Linked DNA regions of Homo sapiens: regions 1 and 2 are each linked to region 3. Evidence: promoter capture Hi-C in 16 types of primary human blood cells and fetal thymus (Javierre and others, 2016). All regions are on one chromosome and are shown on one strand. Each heading gives the region's core, a stretch centred on a gene start or on the middle of the fragment in contact. The rest is flanking DNA. Distances are from core to core; before and after follow the strand shown. Region 1 has its middle 23 kb from the start of ZNF536-AS1. Region 2 has its middle 7.3 kb from the start of UQCRFS1-DT. Region 3 holds the start of CCNE1 (cyclin E1).

Region 1 (2,944 bases), core at 321-2,820, 830 kb before region 3:
TCCACGCGGCCGCAGGTTGGGGACTCGGAACCGCTTCTTGTGGGCCCAGCCCCTTGACAGGGCACCTGCAGCTAAGAGCATCTGAAAGCCCGTGGGTGTGCACCTTCTGCATGGAGCAGCCCTTTTTAGTCTGTGTTCTGGGAACACAGGCAGAAAAGGAAGGAAATTCCATCTGAGGATGAGCCCACAGTACAGCCTGAAGGGGAGCGAGCCATAGGAGAACCGATGCATCCCTCAGGTGTGAGGAAAATTGGAGGCACTGAGCAGAAGAAAAGTGAAGGCAAGCTTCCTGGCTGAAGCTGACTTCATATGAGAGATTTCCAAAGCGACACGTGGGAAACTTCACAACTCCCTAAAACCCGGAGATGGGGCCAGGTCCCTCTTGTACCGGTTGTCAGGGAAGCCTCAAGACTTCATGCTGCTTGCTGTAGGACAGCTGGGGGCATCCAAAACAGTTTCGCTAGCAAAGGGTCAGCACTCCCTGCCCCAGATTAAAAGTTGGTGATGCTATCAACCCTTTGGAAAGGAAATACCACTTCCAAATTGGGGTCTTAGCAAGGAGGTGCTGGAACTGGGTTTATAATGCTCTTTTAAAAAACACAAGGAGGCATACATAGAACATAGTTGATTGGAAGGAGGGATGACAACTTCTAGAGAAAATGAAAAATAAATTATTTGCTTTCATGTCCATAAAGGGAAGACGAAAGCAGATGCCAGCAACAGACAAGCATTTCCCAGGGAGAGGAAAATATTTCTGAAGGAAATCAGCCTAGTAGCAGAACAGGTGAGAAAGAAATTAGAGTGTCTAAGGACTGATAACTCCGGGAGCAGATGGGAACCATCTTAGAATTTGTGCAAGAAGAGGCAAGGAAACAGGGGAACGGTTAGCAAATACCTTTTAAAAACACCCAGGGAAACGGGAGAAGCACCAGTGGCCAAGAGCCCTTATGCAACACCTATATTTAATAACGACTCAAAGGGAGATCAAAGAAATTAAACACCAGTAAGCTTGACTTGAGCAGTGGGGAAGATATTGGAAACACTAATCAGGGACAAAATAGGGAAAGTTATGATTTAATTAAAGATATTCAGCATGGATTCACAAAAGGGAGATCATACGTAACAAAACTAATAGAATATTTTGAAAAAGTAACAAAAAGGAATTCAAGAGGGAAACCAGGGGTATAATTTACTGGGACTTTAAGAAAGCTTTTGTGCACTGACTCACAAAGGACTAATCTCCAGCGGTGGGGAGTTTGGGTGTGAGTGTGGTGGGGGGTGGAGAATGAATGAAGAATTGTCTGGACCAAGGGTACTTGTGAGCATTACTATGAAGAGATTAGGATAAAAAAAGGAGACTGACTGCTGGAATTTCCCGAGATCTGAGTTTTTTTAATTAATTTTTTTAAACATACAACATCAATAGCCTTGCTTCGGAAATGCGCCCAAACGTGGTGGAATTCTCCTGCAGGTGTAACGTCGGAGGGCAGGTGCCAGTTGATACAACAAGGGCAATAACATTGGAAAGGATTTATTGAAATATGATGAATACATGACCATCCCTCAAATACTACGAGACTGCGACCAAAAGGGGGGCAGAGCCACTAATTGCCACTTGAGTAATTAACACAAATAAAGGTGGAGAAAATGTCTAGAAGGAGCTAAAGCACTGTGGTCTGGACAGTGCGTGATCAACAGCTGTGCCCACTGACCGGCAAAGTCACACATCCACACGTACACACCGATGGCTTCATGCAGAAGCACGCACACACCCGCACATGCACACATTCACACATTACATAGGGACATTCATGAGCACACCTTCACACCTTGCAAAGATGCACTCCTGCCTAAACACACATTGTGCACATTCGTGCTCCTAGACACGTGTACACACAGTCGTGAACATGTGTGCGCAGGCTCAAGCTTCTTTCCCCAGAGGCTGCTATACTGTGCTTAGGTGGAAATGATGGATGTAAAGGAAAAAAGAACATACTATTTTCCACCAGGACAGTTGGGGAGGCACATGACAGGGGGAAAGGCCCCCTTAGTCACATTACGGTAATAATAGATGCCACAGGGATGAAAGAAGAGGCAGAGGGGAGAGGAATCGTGAGACACAAAAAGACCTTTGTTGCTACAAGCCAAACCAGAGCTGAATACCTTCTCTGAAAAAATAATGGCAGAAATCCCCAAAGGGGCCAAACTCTTGCACTTGGAGACAGAGCTACAGAATGCAGTAGCAGGAGGCTGGAGAAGACGGTGACTAGATCTGAGACCTGCTGTCCTCAGGGCTCCAACCCAAAGCTTATCCAGCAAGAAGCCAGGCTGGGCAACGGCATGGCGAACTTTCCCAAAATGCAGACGTGTTGTTCGCCAAACGAATAGTTTCTTCATTCTTGGTGAATGTCTAGGTCAGAATAATGACCAAAAGCATCAGAACATATGTGTCTAGATGGGAAGCTCCCTGCTGCAGGGTGGCGCCATCCGCTAAGTGGGCTGCAGCCACTAGCAGACGGCCCTCATCTGTGGGGCTTCACACTCAAATCCCTTTGACACTTATAAAGTTATGACAAGCCTGTGGAGAAGATATGGATATAGACACAGATCCTAACATGCAAGTATTAGAATAATTTGAACTTCATTTACCTTTTACATCATTCATTAATATTAAAATGTGACTTCAACAGTTTCCATATTTAAAAGGTCACTGAGGATGAAAAGTTGCAAAATGAAGGATACATGTCCTCCTCATTAATAATAACAGGAGTGTCCTATAATAGTCATATCCTCTGATGCTAAGGCACCAAGGCATTGATTCCCCCCAAAAAAATTTTTTTAAAGAAATGCCACCAAAAGCAATGGCAGCAAAAGCCAAAATTGACAAATGGGATCTAATTAGACTAAAGAGCTTCTGCACAGCAAAAGAAACTACCATCAGAGT
Region 2 (3,039 bases), core at 81-2,580, 590 kb after region 3:
ACTCGGGTCCTAGGATGTTGCTCCACCTGGATCAGCGGCACCATCCCCAGTGCCTGCCTTCTCCTCTAATGCCTCCAGGTGATCTCTTGTGTTCCTCACCCTTCCCATCCCTCCTGACCCTGGGCACCTCCACGATCCCTTCTGCCCAGGCTTTTGGTTCCTTCTCCCCTCAGGGTCTCACTGACTGCACTCCATTCTCTCTCTGGAGCACAAGAAGCCTTATATGCATTTGCTGACCCCTTCAGCCAGCACAAATTTGCCATCTCTCTCTGCGTGCCTAAAGTTCCATTACAGGTGGAATAGAAGAAGCCCGGTCACTCTTACACAGCTGAGGATGCAGCAATACTTCTTCGTGGAGTGCAAGACTCTATCCCTGCCTTAAGGAGTTTATTTGGTGGAGACAAGGCAGAGGAGAAGGTAGGGTGGTTTATTCCAGCCTAAGAGAGGGCATCCACAGCACATCCCATAGCCGTCCAGAGGAAGGGGACTGGAAATAGGACAGTAGCTGTAAAATACTCATCCACACAAACTGAGCACCGCCAGAGGCCATGCCAACATAACCGAGTTCAAGCCGGTACCATGCACTGCACAACAGCCAGTACGTCAAGAAACAAGGAATTGGGTCAAGGGAGGGGGCTTTGTTTTGGAGAGCCAGCAACCGAGAAGGTGGTGGGCCAGTGTCCTAAAGAACCATCTGAAGTTACTATGAATTTCAGCCTCCTTTTATGTGGGAGGAGAGAGGGGGTTGAGGTTAGGATGTGACCGATGACAGCGGACATCTGAGCAGCAGCAAGGGTCTGAGGGGGCTGGAGACGTGTTTGTCCTTGGTCAGGTCCCAGTGCTCGTGTACATCTTTAACACACAGTGTTGCTCATGGGACGCCCTCCTTATCTCCTTGGGGGTGAGTGTTCAGAAGGAACTGTGGTCTCCTTGCTTTAAACTAGAAATGAAAGGCCTCTCACAGTTAGCTTGGTTTATGTGCAGAGATCAGCAAGAGCAGTTAACCCAGAAGATGTCACCAGAGGAGGTGGGTTAGGAGCAAAACACTTGTCACATGAGGGCTTCTTTTCACTGCTCCACCAAGGGCACATTCTTGCCTTCCCCTTTATACACACTCCTGTTACCCCCATCTTGCCAGGAGGCTGGACGTGTCCCCAGGTCTGCCCAAGTCCACCAGGGCTTCCTGGAGGACATGGAGTTCATGCTGGACCTTGACCCGGAGAAGAATGAGGCAGAGGATAGAGGGGGCTCCAGGTTAGGCCCAGCACAGGGCCAGGTGGGAAGGAGAGTAGCTTTGGCCTCTGCACAGAACCACCAGGTCCATGGTCCAGTCTTGTCTCTTCTGCCAACCCCATCCCTTCCAGCTCTGGCATTCATGGAACAAATCATCAGTTATTTGGATTCAAATCTGACAAATTAAATTGCAAAGAATTAAATAAGTTGTAGATCAATACTGTCTAAATGATCAATTAATCATTCCCTGTAATTAAAACTACCAATTCCTAATACCTTTCAGTTAAATTTTATTGCACCATTTCTAATTCAGAGCTTTTCGGCAGTTATATTGATTGCAGGTATACTTACCTGGTAATCAAATAATTTATTAATCAGCATACTTCATTATGGAATATCTGCACATTGACTCAGAAGGCTGGTTTAGTTCAGCCTGAGTTTTATTTTTATTTTATTTTATTTTTTTGAGACAGAGTTTGGCTCTTGTTGCCCAGGCTGAAGTGCAATGGCATGATCTTGGCTCACTGTTACCTCCACCTCCTGGGTTCAAGTGATTCTCCTGCCTCAGCCTCCCAAGTAGCTGGGATTACAGGCACCCGCCACCATGTCTGGCTAATTTTTTTTGTTTTTAGTAGAGACAAGGTTTCACCATGTTGCTCAGGCTAGTCTCGAGCTCCCTCAGGTGATCCACCAGCCTTGGCCTCCCAAAGTTCTGGGATTACAGGCATGTAATATCCTGCCCAGCCCAATTTGAGTTTTATTTTAAAGATGCTGGAGGTTTGCCATTACCTGCTTGTATACGTCACACAAAGTTCCTTCTTTTGTGAAAAATAATTGCAAAAAAAATAGGTGTGTGTACTTAAAAGCAGGTAAATGGATAAACTCAAGTGGTTCCTCAAAATTATGTTTTAACCGTAATCTTTTTCATGGAGGTTTTGCAACTTAATTTATTCCCAATATGCTTAGAAAAGTGCTCTCAAGATTCAGGGATGAAAAGGCCTTTGGGAAAATGGGTGCTACCTTCATTAGTACCTTGAAATACAAATTAAATCCCAAGCACATCACAATTTGCTTTCCTGCATCTACCAATTTTGAAATAGTACAAATAAAATGTCTTACTTACCTCGTGAATTTATTATTTCAGCTGTTCATGCTGGACACCTGGTGGTTTGATTTAACTTCCCTTAATGTTTTGGGGCATCATTAGGAGAGGGAAATGAGGACCTGTAATTGTGTGTGCAGACCCTGCAGGGGCCCTGGGTGGGCTGGAGCCTCCTTTCTGCTCCCCTTGCTCACATTCAAGGTCCCCAGGGCTGTCTGGGTTTGTCTTGGAGATTCAGGGAGCCAGCTCCTCCCCAGAGAGAAGAGGGCTCTGGTGGGCTTCCCTCTGCAAAGACAGAACGTGGGCATCAGTCTCTGGATCTCAGCTTCTCCTGATTGATGGGCAAAGCTTCCACAGAGGTGTTGAGCTGGGTTGCAGCTGAGTGGATCCAGCACTTCAGGCTTGAGAACAAGATGACTGAAGGTAGGGAGCCATAGGACCACTGAGAAGGCCAGAGGTGGAGGTGGGAGAGGGGCAGAAACTGACATTACCACCTTCTCTGTCCTCTACAAACTGCCCAAGGACTTTCAGAGCCATACTCCTTCAACTTATGCCCCACACCCCGAAATCTTCCTTCCCTCCAAAAAATGTTCATTTCTCCATCAACACAGTTCATCCTAGACCCGTCTGTCTCAGAGTACTCCTCACTCTGCAGGGAGAGCTGGGGGAAGTCCCTAACAGCACGCAGAAAGGATGGCAATTTG
Region 3 (2,949 bases), core at 101-2,600:
AGTTTCCTCCTGGGCAGAAGGGGAGGACTGAATACTGTGATGTCCATTCTGGTTCTTCCAGGCTAGGCACATATCTGTAATCTCAGACGGTGCCAGTCAGGAACACCAAGCTTCCTGGAATCCCAGGACTGGCAGAGGCCAGTGCCCACTGACAGGTACAGTGCTGGGCCATATGGGCTGTGGCTGCATTAGAGAAGTTCACTCTCACCAGAGTGTCTCCAGCAAGAGACAAGACAGCATGAAACCCCATGTGACCCAGGGGGAGAAGGACCTCCACAGAGGCCCAACCCCGGGCGGACCTACCTGGCTCCCACACTGGTCCCTCGCCGTCCTGTCGATTTTGGCCATTTCTTCATCTGGATCCTGCAAAAACTAACATGAAGCCACCCCCATGACCCCAAGGAAACACACCAAACAAGACAAAAACAGAGAGAAGAAGAGAAAGCTGATCAGGTTATGAGCTCCGTTCCTGCCCAAGGGACCCCCGCCCCCGTAGGCAGAGCCAAGTCGGGTACCCAGGTGAGATGGGGGGGATGCTCCCCAACCTGTCTCTTTTGTACTCACAACGGTCACGTTTGCCTTCCTCTTCCTGGAGCGAGCCGAGAACTCCGCGCCGCCGTCCTCCTTCATGGTGTCCCGCTCCTTCGCATCCCTGTGGACCCGGGTGGCACCGGGCCGGGTGAGCACCCGCGGCCGCCCCTCCCCCACGCCACCCGTCCCGTCCCGTCCCGTCCCGTCCGGCCCCGCGGCGCGGGCACTCACCGCTCCCTGCGCTCCCTCGGCATGATGGGGCTGCTCCGGCCTGAGGCCTGCGGGGCGGCGCGGGGTGAGGCGGCGGCGGGGTCAGGCCGCGGGCCCAGTACCCCTTCCCCCTTTGCGCGCGGGCGGCCGGGCGAGCCAGGAAGATGGCCGATGGCGGGGTGGCCTGTCACCCGCGACCCGGGCACCCGCCGACCCCCGACCCGGGGTCCCGCCGCCCCCGCCGCCCTCACCGGCCCGTCGCCTCCCGGGGCCCGGGCTGCCTCAGTGTCCCCTCCACCCCACCCCGCCGCGCTCTCAGCACCCTCCCGGGCGCCCCGCGACGCCGCCCGGGGACCCGCGACCCGGCCGCACCCCGCCCCCACCCAGCTCCCCGGCGCGGTCTGGGCCCCAGGAGTCCCTGTCCGCAGCCCGCGGCAGTAGACTCACCAGGGTCTTGTCCGCGGCGGACGGCGCGCTCCAGTCCCGGCAGGCGGCGGCGGCGACGGCAGTGGCGGCGGCGGCGCCGGGAGTCGGCGGGCCGAGCGCGCGGCGGTGGCGGGATCCGCGCCTGCCCCCTACACCGCGCTGGCGGCCGCGCCGGCTGCTCCTGCGCCCGGCTCAGAGCGGGACATTTAAAATCCCTGCGCGCGGAACCGGCCCCGGCCCGCCCTCGCACCGCCCCGCCGCGGCTCCCAGCCCCTCAGCGGCCGCGCGGGACCCAGAGCCCGTCCCGCCCCGTCCCTCGCCCCGCCCCCGGACCCGCCCCTCCACGGCGCCGGCCCGCGAGGCGCAGGGACGGGGAATCAGGGGCGGGGCCGGCGGACAGGGCGGGGCCAAGTGACAGGGCCTGCGCGCCGAGGGCCGGGCGCGGGGCGCGGGGCGCGGGACGCGGGGCGGGGCGGCGGGCGGGACGCGGGAGAAGTCTGGCGCGCGGCGGCGAGGGGCGGGCCGCGGGCGCCGGGGGCGGGGCCGAGCGGCGCTGGAGCGGCAAAAAGCCGCGTGGCTGGCGCGGGTGGAATGTAAACACGGCGGGCGGCGCGGGTTCGGGCCCCGGCAGGGCTGAGCCAAGGGGATGTGTGGGGGGCCTACCCGAGGAGCACCGCCCGCCGTTCCTCCGCGCGCGCTGTCCCGCCAGGCACGCCCTCCCCGCCCCCGAGACGCCGAGTTCCGGGCCCTGAGTCCTGGGCGGGGACATCCCCAAGGTCACCGCGCCTGTGCCTTGGCCTAGAACCAAGGCTTCAGGCCGCGGGGTCTGGGGCTCCCTGGGGGCCGGCTGCTATTCCTGGCCGCCTGTCCATTCATCCGTCAGTGCATTGGGTCGTTCATTCATTCATTCAAGGAATCTGTGAGTTCCTTCCATGCGCCCCTTCCATATGCGCCCCTCCCCCGCAAGCCCTTCCTGGCTCTCTGAAGACCTTTCTGACTCTGGGATTCCCTTGCACCCCATCTCTCACTTAAAGCCTTCCAGTTGAGGCCGGGCGCGGTGGCTCACGCCTTTAATCCCAGCATTGTGGGAGGCCGAGACGGCTGATCCCTTGGGGTGTTCGAGACCAGCCTGGGTAACAGTGAGACCCCCATTTCTACAGAAAAAGAAACAAAAAGCCTTCCAGTTGTTTCGCATAAGGGTCAAATCCACACTCCGTGTCCTAGGCTACAGGCTCCACAGGACCTGACCCTGATCCCCCACCCTCAGACCTCAGGCCTCCTCTCCACAGCTCCTCTGTCCTTTCTCCCTCAAGACTTGTATTTTTTATTGTGGCGGGGGGTGGGGGGTGGCAGGTAGGGATAGGGTCTTGCTATGTTGCTCAGGCTGGTCTCAAACCCATGAGCTCAAGCGATCCTCCCGCCTTGGCCTCCCAAAGTGCTGGGAGCCCAGCCCCTACACAGTCTTGGTGCCTCTCTGTTTCTTGTCTCTCTCCCCACCTTGCCCATCTTGCTCACTGCTGTATCTGTCAGTTCTTGGCATAGTGCCTGGACCAAGGGAGACACTTAAATTGTTTCTGAATGAACATTTGAAAGACAGGCACTGGCCAAGCCCTTGCAGGGCTTACCGGCTAATGAGAGAGACAGGTAAGGAACAGTCATCACCTCAGAGTACCCTCTGTACTCAGCTTCAGGAAGATGTGCGTAAAAGAAGGCTCTGGAATGCTCCCAGGGCCCTTCTTAAGCTAAAGTCTCAGTCCTGTCCCTCACCCTCCCCTAGTGACC

The links. Contacts are between HindIII fragments. The CHiCAGO score rates a contact against its expected background, and 5 or more counts as called.
Region 1: a fragment that was not itself captured here is called in contact with the fragment with the promoter of CCNE1 in region 3 in 1 of 17 cell types (endothelial precursors); the score reaches 6.2 in endothelial precursors.
Region 2: a contact is called between a fragment that was not itself captured here and the fragment with the promoter of CCNE1 in region 3, in 1 of 17 cell types (total CD8 T cells). The highest score is 6.0, in total CD8 T cells.

What each region holds. Positions count from the first base shown.
Region 1 is chr19:30,645,327-30,648,270 of GRCh38, reverse strand. It overlaps a transcript of ZNF536 not described here. Among named protein-coding and RNA genes, the nearest start is that of ZNF536-AS1, 23 kb to the left of the region's middle. The HindIII fragment of the contact is 717 bases long and covers 1,212-1,928 here.
Region 2 is chr19:29,219,034-29,222,072 of GRCh38, reverse strand. No RefSeq gene overlaps it. Among named protein-coding and RNA genes, the nearest start is that of UQCRFS1-DT, 7.3 kb to the right of the region's middle. The HindIII fragment of the contact is 2,711 bases long and covers 1-2,685 here.
Region 3 is chr19:29,810,392-29,813,340 of GRCh38, reverse strand. CCNE1 (cyclin E1) reads right to left here and starts at 1,350. Exons shown (of 12, transcript NM_001238.4): 1 at 1,189-1,350; 2 at 763-809; 3 at 565-652; 4 at 304-372. The coding sequence starts at 785. RefSeq lists a silencer at 1,267-1,896. The HindIII fragment of the contact is 7,130 bases long and covers 113-2,949 here.